4 separate regions of the Homo sapiens genome follow, and regions 1, 3 and 4 are each linked to region 2. The links are contacts of gene promoters, found by promoter capture Hi-C in human tissues and cell types (Jung and others, 2019). All regions are on one chromosome and are shown on one strand. Each heading gives the region's core, a stretch centred on a gene start or on the middle of the fragment in contact. The rest is flanking DNA. Distances are from core to core; before and after follow the strand shown.

Evidence for each region. The method cuts DNA at HindIII sites, captures the fragments that hold promoters and counts their contacts. A contact is called where the count stands out against the background at its distance.
Region 1: a contact is called between a fragment that was not itself captured here and the fragment with the promoter of PIF1 in region 2, in 1 of the 25 tissues and cell types used here (spleen).
Region 3: a contact is called between a fragment that was not itself captured here and the fragment with the promoter of PIF1 in region 2, in 1 of the 25 tissues and cell types used here (adrenal gland).
Region 4: a fragment that was not itself captured here is called in contact with the fragment with the promoter of PIF1 in region 2 in 2 of the 25 tissues and cell types used here (IMR-90 fibroblasts and spleen).

What each region holds. Positions count from the first base shown.
Region 1 is chr15:65,034,211-65,036,910 of GRCh38, forward strand. No RefSeq gene overlaps it. Among named protein-coding and RNA genes, the nearest start is that of MTFMT, 5.9 kb to the left of the region's middle. The HindIII fragment of the contact is 4,917 bases long and covers 1-2,700 here.
Region 2 is chr15:64,824,397-64,827,096 of GRCh38, forward strand. PIF1 (PIF1 5'-to-3' DNA helicase) reads right to left here and starts at 1,251. Exons shown (of 13, transcript NM_001286496.2): 1 at 1,173-1,251. RefSeq lists enhancers at 1-194, 1,384-1,513. The HindIII fragment of the contact is 20,575 bases long and covers 1-2,700 here.
Region 3 is chr15:65,053,716-65,056,415 of GRCh38, forward strand. RASL12 (RAS like family 12) reads right to left here. Exons shown (of 5, transcript NM_016563.4): 5 at 1-1,559. The coding sequence ends at 1,184. Among named protein-coding and RNA genes, the nearest start is that of SLC51B, 9.7 kb to the left of the region's middle. RefSeq lists enhancers at 717-1,217, 1,218-1,718. The HindIII fragment of the contact is 7,731 bases long and covers 1-2,700 here.
Region 4 is chr15:65,005,686-65,008,401 of GRCh38, forward strand. MTFMT (mitochondrial methionyl-tRNA formyltransferase) reads right to left here. Exons shown (of 9, transcript NM_139242.4): 7 at 428-506. Among named protein-coding and RNA genes, the nearest start is that of SPG21, 17 kb to the left of the region's middle. The HindIII fragment of the contact is 5,429 bases long and covers 1-2,716 here.

The DNA of each region.
Region 1 (2,700 bases), core at 182-2,681, 210 kb after region 2:
ATATAGATTATCATTCTCTGGAGATTTGCCAAAACCTTCAGGTCTATAATACATCCCTCTGTGGGGGATAATGATCATCTCAGTCCTTATGTAACAGTTATAGAAAGGCTCATTTGCTTATATCCTGCTCTCCTGTGGGAATCCTACTTGCCTCCAATCTGATGTAGCTGACTCTGTAATAAATTAAACCAGAGCTACCCAGTCTTATCATTAACAGGTGCTTTCTGCTTGCTCCTCACACTTGGCCTAAAGGCCCTTGTATATAAGTCAGAGATCTTGGCTTCTGGAAGAAATATCAAAATAAAATTTACAGCCTTGGGGGTAGGGGCTGAAGGGGCTGTACCAGGCACTTTTTTTTTTTTTTTTTTTTTTTTTGAGACAGAGTCTTGCTCTGTCACCCAGGGTAAAGTGCCGGGACGTGATCTCGGTTCACTGCAGCCTCGACCTCCCAGGCTCAGGTGATCCGCCCGCCTCAGCCTTCCAACTATAGGCACGCGCCACCATGCCCAGCTAATTTTTTTTTGTAGAGACAGGGTTTTGCCATGTTGCCGAGGCTGGTCTCGAGCTCCTGGGCTCAAGCAATCCTCCTGCTTTGGCCTCCCAAAATGCTGGGATTACAGGCTGCACCACTGCGCCCGGCCAAAATGCACATCCTCTTTACAGGGGAAATTCCCTACTGTAGATAGCTTTGCTTGAATGAGCTCAACTACAGTGCGAATGCTGGGGCTTATTGTGTTGACTGTACGGTCACCACGGTTGCCGCATCCCGAGGACATGGTCACTTCCTTGACTACCTATCTTGCCTCAAGTTGAACATTTGAATTGTTCCCACTTGTTGGCTATGATGAATAATGCTACCGTGAACATTCATGTGCAAGCTTTTGTGTGGAAATATGTTTCCACCCGCTGGGCACGGTGGCTCACACCTGTAATCCCAAAACTTTGGGAGGCCGAGGCGGGCGATCACTTGAGGTCAGGAGTTCAAGACCAGCCTGGCCTACATGGTGAAACCCCATCTCTACTAAAAACACAAAAATTAATCGGGAGTGGTGGTGCATGCCTGTAGTACCAGCTACTCAGGAGGCCGAGGCAGGAGAATTGCTTGCACCCGGGAGGCAGAGGTTGCAGTGAGCCAAGATCAAGCCACTGCACTTCAGCCTGGGCAACCAAGTAAGACTCTGTCTCAAAAAAAAAAAAGAAATATGTTTCCAATTCTCTTGGGTATATACCTAAAAGTAGAATTGCTGAGTCCCACTCTATGTTTTATTTTTTATTTATTTATTTTTTATTTTTTTGAGACTGAGTCTTGCTCTGTCACCCAGGCCAGACTGCAGTGGCGCGATCTTGGCTCACTGCAAGCTCCGCCTCCCGGGTTCATGCCATTCTCCTGCCTCAGCCTCCCGAGTAGCTGGGACTACAGGTGCCCGCCACCACACCCGGCTAATTTTTTTCTATTTTTAGTAGAGACGGGGTTTCACCATGTTAGCTAGGATGGTCTCGATCTCCTGACCTCGTGATCTGCCTGCCTTGGCCTCCCAAAGTGCTGGGATTACAGGCGTGAACCACTGCGCCCGGCCTCTATGTTTTAATTCTTAGAAGTGACAAGCTGTTTTCCAAAGTGGCTACACCGTTTTACATTCCCACCAGCAGTGAGTGACAGTGTACCATCATATAACTACTGATACTGCAGGGAGTAAACTCAGGAGTTCAGGCCTCTTTGTGTGAACTGATTTTGCCGCTGCACATGGATACCTGGCACATTGTACCAGAGCGCTTACATCTCAGGATTGCCGGGGTGCCTTTGTCTAGAAGCAGATAATTCTGCAAATGTGGACTGCTGACCCAGGATCCACCTATGGAGAATTCATTATGTAGAACTGAATGAAACCAATGATGAAACTCAGATTGTGTTTTGAAATGTTGTCGGTATTTTTTTTTATGTTCTATGTTCTGCTAGGCATATGAAAAACATCTCTTTAGTCCTTTATGTTCCATCTCTAACTCTCAATTTAGCGGGCTTTAAATGTTCAAACTGAAAGGCACTTTCACCACACATAGTTAAAGGAACTACCCTAAATCTCCCTGATTATTAGCTTTGTGAGTCTTACCTTGGTTGCTATATTATTTCAGAGGACCCCTCAAAATTCATGAAATGAATAATATTGTATACTTTAGATCATCCAGTTTTCAGAAATGAGAGACTAAATGCCTCAGAATACCTACCCACATTGCCAAACCCCCTTAGAATCCAAGATGTATTAAATGTTCTGTCTAGGAGGTCAAGACTGTAGAAAATCTTTTTTTTTTTTTTTTTTTTTTTTTTTTTTTTTTTTTTTTTTTGAGACGGAGTGTCTTAACTCTGTCGTCCAGGCTGGAGTGCAGTGGCACGATCTTGCCTCACCGCAACCTCCGCCTCCCGGGTTCAAGCAAGCAATTCTCCCACCTCAGCCTCCTGGGTAGCTAGGATTACAGGCACCCACCACCATGCCCGGCTAATTTTTGTATTTTTAGTAGAGACAGGGTTTCTCCATGTTGGCCAGGCTGGTCTCAAACTCCTGACCTCAGGTGATCCACCTGCCTTGGCTTCTCAAAGTGCTGGGATTATAGGCATAAGCCACCGCACCTGGCCAGAAAACCTTAAATGGAAAATTTAATCCAAATGGATAAATTAATATACAGGTAAATTTAAGGATGATGCCT
Region 2 (2,700 bases), core at 1-2,500:
ACGTAATGGGTGCTATAGGGGACGTAATGGGTGCTATAAAGGACGTGACAGGGAGCAGGGTCAAGGCTACACAAGATCACGAGGACTGTCACTGGTAACACAAAGAGGTCACAAAGACGGAGAAAGGGCTTTGGGCTAACCGAAAATCCACCCTTAGAATATGCCCTGGGCCGGGCGCAGTGGCTCGCGCTTTAATCCCAGCACTTTGGGAGGCTAAAGTGGGCGGATCACCTGAAGTTAGGAGTTCTGAGACCAGCCTGGCCAACATGGTGAAACCTCGTCTCTACTAAAAATACAAAAATTAGCCGGGCGTGGTGGCGGGCGCTTGTAATTCCAGCACTTTGGGAGGCTGAAGAAGGAAGATCGCTTGAGCCCAGGAACTCGAGACCATCCTGGGCAACATAGCGACACCCTCTAATTAAAAAAAAAATACATACATATAAATACATACATATGCATACATTATATATATGTGTGTGTGTGTGTGTATATATATGTATATATATATATACACACACGCACCCTGCTACACAATTTCCATTTCTATATATCCAATTTCTATATATATATACACACAATATATATACAATTTCTATATATATACACACACACACACACACACATATACACACACACCGTGCTACACAACAATTTCCAGAGCGGCGGATGGGCACCGAGGATTAGGGAGCCTCAGGTGTCCTGCAAGGACCTCACTAGAACAGGGGTCCCTGCGCAGAAAGAATCCTCCTTCCCCGAGACCCAGGGCGAGCACATGAATCCTCAGAGTACTCTCCCCAGGAAGCAGGAGAATCGCCCGTGGGGAGATGCAAAGAGGGCTGCCGTGTAATAAGCGACTTCTGCCTTGTAGGTACATTCACTGGCTTATATGCAGCGGGCAGGTCTCACTCTTCCCCGTGTACAGACGTGGAAACAGGCTAAGAGAGGGAAACTCACTTGCCCTTCATAAGCCACAGCGGCTAGTAGTCAAAGTCAGTGTGATTCCCATGCCCTCGCGCTTCCCACCACCAAGGTGGGGACGAGGTGGAAAATATTCGGCTAGGGAAATCGCGGGGGACCCTGGGACCCTAGAAGCCGTGCTCCCTCAGGCTGACCCATTTGTTTGCACCCTCCCGCCGGAAACCCCTAGATAAATCAGGCTCTTTGCTCCCCACCTCTGGGTTCGGGCAGACACTCACTTGTGCCGACACTCAGATGAACAAGCAGATCGTAGCCGGCCTGTGGCTAAGCTCCGAAACTAGAAATTTTTCAAATGCTAGAGGCAGAAAATCACCCAATCACCGACTGGATCTTTAAATTCTCCAGCCACTCAGAGGTAGGGGCGTAACAATGGGCGTGTCTTTCTTTGCGTCTCTACTCCAGGAGCTTGGGCTGTACCAATTGCCTGCTAGAGGAAGGAGGTTTATGGTGGTGGCTGAGCATACCAAATCCAGTGGACGGCTGGGCGTGGTGGGAGGAGGCCGCCGCTGCGGCAGCCACCCGGCGGCGCGTGGTGTCGGGTCTGAAAACCCTACGCGACTCCGAAGATTTATTTTCAGAACCATCCTTCCAGCACACTCCCTCTCCCCTCTAGCCCGCACACAGAGGCTGGGCTTAGCCTTGGGGAAGATCTGCCTTTGGACTCTCACACCCCTGTTTACACTCACAGTACCATTGTCCAGTTCTGGGCAGACCACCCCAAGGCCTGCCCAATCCCTCCCCCGCCCCCAACTCTACATCCTTCTCTGCCTTTGTAAGGGACTTTACGCTTTGGCTCTCTCACCCACCTGAGGCCCATGAGTGAGAAACTCTGAGACCTGTGCCACGTGCCAGAGGGTACAGCGGAAGCGAGTAGAGTCTCTGTCTTCAGGGAAATTGTATCCCTCTTCTTGCACAGGATGCTGAAAGAATTTACTTTTAATCATCTTTATTATCTCATTGAAGCTTGGAATTACATAGCTGGAAAGGATCTTACAGGTGAGTCTGGCTACCTCATTTTACAGATAATGATAACTACCATGGATTAAATTGCCCTTTCCTTTCCTTTTTCCTTCTTAGGGCTCACTCTGTCGCCCAGGCTGTAGTGGAGTGCAGTGGCACAATCTCTGCTCACTGCAACCTCTGCCGTGGCGCGATCGTGGCTCACTGCAACCTCCGCCTCCTGGGCTCTGGTGATCCTCCCGCCTCAGCCCCCCAGGTAGCTGGAACTACAGATGCACACCCAGCTAATTTATATATATATATATATATATATATATATATATATATATATACACACACACACACATATATACACACACATATATATACACACACATATATATATACACACACATATATATATATACACACACATATATATATATAATTTTTTTTTCGTATAGACGGGATGTCACCATGTTTCCCAGGCTTGTCTCGAACTCCGGAGGTCAAACGATCCACCCACCGTGGCCTCCCGAAGTCCTAGGATTACAGGCATGAGCCCGGACCTTATTTTTCAAATGAGAAAAAAGCAAGGCTTCCAGAGATTTTACTGAAGGTCACATAGCTGATATGGAGAGCAAAACCAAACATTGAACCCAGATTACCTGCTCGCTTAATCACTCCATGGGGCTTAGCTACTACACCACACTGCTCCCAGTCTGTTAGCGGTAGAGGGTGATGACTGAAAGTTGTCCAGGTTCTTGGCGTTTTGAACAAAGA
Region 3 (2,700 bases), core at 112-2,611, 230 kb after region 2:
TAAGAGTCTGTGCAAGACTTCCCTGGGACCTGGCGTGTGGTAAACAAAATCAGACAACTACCACACTGCCTGCCTTGGACAGCCTTTTCTTGCTAACAGTGGGATCTCAAAGGTGTGTCCTGATCCCATGTCTGAGCCATGGTGTCTTGGTATAAGCTGCGGTGACACCACCAAATAACATAAGCAAAATTTTGCTTTATTAACCCAAAATGCTTTAGGTTCTAAAGTGGGCTTTGAACACTCAGACTCATTGCTGAGGGTCCTGGGTCCTGCCAAACCAGATGACAAACGGGTATACTGTGTTTCTACCTGCAGGGGGGCAGGCCCTGTAGCCCCTGGATGGGTCTGATGCTGCTGTGGGCTCCCTGGAGCCCTGGGTAACTCACTGGAGTGACAACTTTCTTCTGCAGCCTGGATCATTAAGCTTGAGGGAGCTGATGCTGAGGTTCTTTGGACAGAGTCCTTAACAGTGGGAAAACACATGGAGAATCTGTCTGCTGGTGAAAGAACTCTGGGGCTCCTTATGCTGGACAACCTACAGTCCCTCCCTTTTATCCTCATTGAGACGCCAAGTGTTGGAAATACCCCTTCCTGGGGCTTCTGTCCATTGGATTATTTTAACTAGATTTTCCTTGGATAAACTGTGGGGTTTGTAGCCTGGGCCTTCTGTGAAGTCAGCAGATGACAGGAGGGCCAGGCTCTGGCCTCTGAAACTGCAGCCGCCCTGCCTTTCCCGTCCACCAGGTGGCACAAGGACCCCAGGCTGTCATTCCGCAGGCTGTTCTCGGGCCTGACATTGACAGAGCCATCCACCCAGACCATCCACTAAGGCCACAGCTGGCCCAACTGTAGCTGGAGCAGGAAGGGCTGATGGCAGCAGGATAGACACTGCAATTTCTTCCTACTTAAGGCTGACCCCAGGTCTCTGGGTTGTCACAGTGGCTGTTTCCCTCTACGGCCACAGACGCGGTGGTTACCATGAAGACCAAGGCCTGGAGGGAACAGAAGCAGCATCCCTGCCTGCCACTCCAGCTCACACAGTGAATTGAGTGTAGGGACACTGCTTGGTGCTGGAGGCGGGGTCTGCTGTCCATCAGACGGAAAGGCTGGTGGTGAGAAGCCAGTCCCTGTCCTGCTGCAGTCCTGTCCAGCCACCGAGCCTAGGCTTCCTGGGGAGGGGGCCTCAGAAGATCTTGAAGCCCTTCAGGAGAGTCAGGGTAGGCGCCTTGCGCTTGCTCTGGGCCCGGGATGACTTCACGGTGACCAGCTTGGCCTGGGCCACAGTGGGCATCTCCTTCAGGTTGATGGTGGAGAGCGTGTTGAAGGTGCAGCTGGCCAGCCCATGCCGCGCGGTGAGCGGGGCCTGGTGGGGCAGGGCCCTCTCCTCGGAGATGAAGAGGGGCCGGGTCAGGGGGCTCTTCTCCAGCTCCCGCCGTGCCTCTCGCACTGCCTCGTGGAAGACATGCTGCACGTGCTCAAAGTCCAGACAGGCAGAGACCTCGAAAAACAGGCACCCAAACCTGCCTGCCAAAGCCACACCCTCTGCCTTGGTGACTTGCCTGGTGAGGAAGCAGTGTGAGGCAGGGAGTTAGGAGCAGGCTGTGCCAAGTCAGGCAGACCAGCTCCTACACCCAGCGCCCCATGGACTAGCTGGGTGGCCTGGGGTCATCTTCACCTCTCTGAGTCTCAGCGTTCTTATCAGTACAGTGGGTTACTGCCCTCTGCCTCTCAGGGTTGTTAGGATTACGAAAGACAATTTGTTTCAAGTGCTTAGCACAGTACCTGGCACAGAGTCAGTGCTCAATAAATGGTAGCTGATGTCACCCAGGCCAGAATTTTGGGATGAGGGTAAGGGTAAGAAGCTACTCCAAATCCCCTATGCTAGACCCTGCCTGTGGCTGGAGGAAGCAGGCCATTCCCAGCCCCATCTCTTCTCTACCCCATCGTGGGTCCCTGGGGCAGGAAACAGGCCACCCACAGCTCTGGCTTGTGGGATCAGCTCTAGAGAGAAGCAGTCGTTTGGACTGAAGGGTTAGACCACAGAGGTGACTCCAGAAGCCTGTGGTTGGCAGAGTTCTCAGGGCTCCTGGGGTTTGTGTTTGTGAAAATTCATTATTCAAGCCCTCACAATGACAAAGTTGCAGATTCAAGCTCATCATAAAAGCAAATAATAAAACCAGGGCAGAGGCAGGAGAGGGCAGGGGGGACAACATTTCATGGTGAGGAGGGCAAAAGGAGAGAGGGGGCAACACCTATTCTGCCTTGGTCCTACACCACCTCCCGTGAAGGGAGGATAGAATATCCGGAACTTGGGAAGGTCCTGGAGGCTTCTGACCTGAAAGCCATGGGAATCGAGGCGGGAAGAAAAAGAAGACTGGCCTTGCATAGGTCGGATGTCTACAAGAGGGAAGAGATGGGGGGGTCCCTGAGATCTTGGGGCCAAGACTCCACTGGCTGGATCTTCCTGACCTACTGCTGAGCTGTCCCGCTGCCCATTCCCGAGGATAATGGCACAGCCACTAGATGAGAGGAGGCACTCGAGTGGGCCATGGTGGGAAAAGTTTCTGAGCCCAAGGCTGACCTGGCAGGAGCAGGGGCTGAGAGTGGGCTAGCTTCCCAGAGTGCCACTCCATGGTGAGGCACGCGGTCTCAGAGAGAGTGAGTAACTGGGACAAAAAAGAGTCAGAGGCATCGGATCTA
Region 4 (2,716 bases), core at 84-2,583, 180 kb after region 2:
GAAACCTCTGCCTCCCAGGTTCAAGTGACTCTCCTGCCTCAGCCTCCCAAGTAGCTGGGATTACAGGCATGTGCCACCATGCCCAGCTAAATTTTTGTATTTAGTAGAGACGGGGCTTCACCATGTCAGTCAGGCTAGTCTCGAACTCCTGACCTCAGCTGATCCACCCACCTTGGCCTCCCAAAGTGCTGGAATTACAGGCGTGAGCCACCGCGCCTGGCCTGTTCTTGTAATGATTAAATGAGAAAATATATGAGAATGAGTGTTGCAAAGAATAAGACAATAAGTGAATGTAAAGTATTATAATTACTGAACTGAAACAAACTAAAAGTTATTTTTAGTAATTGTGACATATGATAAAACAGACGTATTTCCAGATACACTACAGTGAAAACAGCTTCCATGTTAGCTATTCAAAAGTTAGTACCAGCAAGGACTGAACTGTTAACTTCTACCAAATCCAGAAGTTTAATGGTATTCGCCATCCAGAGCGTCTGCAACGGAATCTGCAAGTAAAATTAAAGAAGGTATGATAAAGGAATACACTCAACTCCCAAACCCTTTTCAACTACTATTTTGTGTTAATCTGGACTTTTCTTTCAATTAGAGGAATTGGGAACTCAGTCACTAAGTTTGATGGAACAGACCGTAAACATGACTCTCTACATCAGTGTTTCCAGGATTTATAAGATCTTTTTTTTTTTTTTTTTGAGACGGAGTCTCGTTGTGTCACCAGGCTGGAGTGCAGTGGCGCGATCTTGGCTCACTGCAAGCTCCGCCTCCCGGGTTCACGCCATTCTCCTGCTTCAGCCTCCCGAGTAGCTGGGACTACAGGCGCCTGCAACCATGCCCGGCTAATTTTTTGTATTTTAAGTAGAGACGGGGTTTCACCATGTTAGCCACGATGGTCTCTATCTCCTGACCTCATGATCCGCCCGCCTTAGCCTCCCAAAGTGCTGGGATTACAGGCGTGAGCCACCGCGCCCGGCCGATTTATAAGATCTTAAATGTTACTTTAAAATCAATGTTTATATCTAATATACTAATATTTCCAATTAAAAATTTATTATCCTTATAAAAAATGCAAGCATTACATTATGTTAAAAAATTTTAGAAAGTGATATTCTGTATTTATTCCCATCCCTATAGGTAACGACTGTTAAGTTTGATGTGCATTTCCCTGTATTTTTTTCTACAAATATTATTATAAAAATCTAGAACACAGTGATAGAGACAGGAGACAGCCAAATGCCACCCAGGTCATTATGCACAGTGGGCTTGACTCAACATGTCCATGGTGAAAAGTTCTGTCCCTTAACACATGCACAGTAAAGGAAATAAATCAAGGTGGCGTGGCTCAGACTAAGGGCCCGCATGAGCACTGGAAGAATGGGGGTGGAGCCACCAGGAATTTCTGCCTTATGCAGGGGAAGAGCCTGGCCTCTTCAGCTCCTGTGTGGTGGCCTGGTATTCAATCTGTGAGGTGGGAGCCTGTTGGCAGGACCCCCTCTTTTTTTGCTGAGAGCTTTCTTTTAATAAATTCCACTCTCCTCACCTTTCAATGTGTCCACGTGCCTAATTTTTCCTGGTTGTGAGACAAGAACCCAGATTTTAGCTGAGTTAAGGAGCAAAAAGTCCTGCATCAATACTGTTTTACAAGGACTTTTGTTATGTGACCATAAAGCATTGATGTTTCATCAGTACATACTTATCAATTTCACTCTATCTGCTGCACAGTAACCCATTTTATGAATATGTAATTTATGCAACTACCTTTATGATAGATATTTGTTATTTTCAATTTATTGCTATTTATAACACTATAAACTAGGGTAATAACCTTGTCGATATATCTTTGAGGGCTTACACATTTCTGGATAATAGTTTTGGGGTTTTTTGTTTTTAAAGTGGAATGCGTGGGTTAAACAGCATCAACATTTTATTGCTAAACTGCCTGGATAAGTGAGAAAAAAATATGATAATCTCTTGCTGTTTATTATTAGCGAAGCTGAGAAGCTGTCCATATATTTATGTGCACTTTTAATTTATTTATCTGTAACCTGCCTATTTATGCCCTTTGGTTATATTTTTTAAAACTGGGATGGTTATCTCATTAATTTGCAAAAATATTTTCTATATTTAGGAAATTAGCCTTTTAACTCTTACATGTGTTGTGAATATTTTCCTCAGTTTGTTGACTTTTAATCTTGGGGACAGCCATTTTTTCCATGCATAAGTTTTTTATTTTCATAATTATATTTCTAAGTCTTTTCTCTCATTACTTTGGTGGTTCGTATCATACTTAAAAAGGCCTACCCCACACTTTAAGATTATTAAATATTGTCAAATTATTCAGTTGTGCTTTTTTATAGTCCTTGTGATTTTACTTTTTATATTTAAATCCTTGATCCATCTATATTTTGATTTTTTTATTATGGTAAAAAACACATAAGAAAAATGTGCTCAATTAACAAATTGTAAGTATACCATACAGTATTGTTAACTACATATGCATTGTTATAATATAGCACTTACTATGATTTTAAAAGATAGGATTTGAGGGCTTCCCCCACCAATGGTTGGCCAGTTATCCCAATACTATTTACTAGATAATCCATCTTACCCTTCCCTCCAGTATGAAATACCACCTTTATCATGTAACACATTTCCAACATACCTGAGATCCTACAGCCTGATTTAAATGTTAATAAAATTT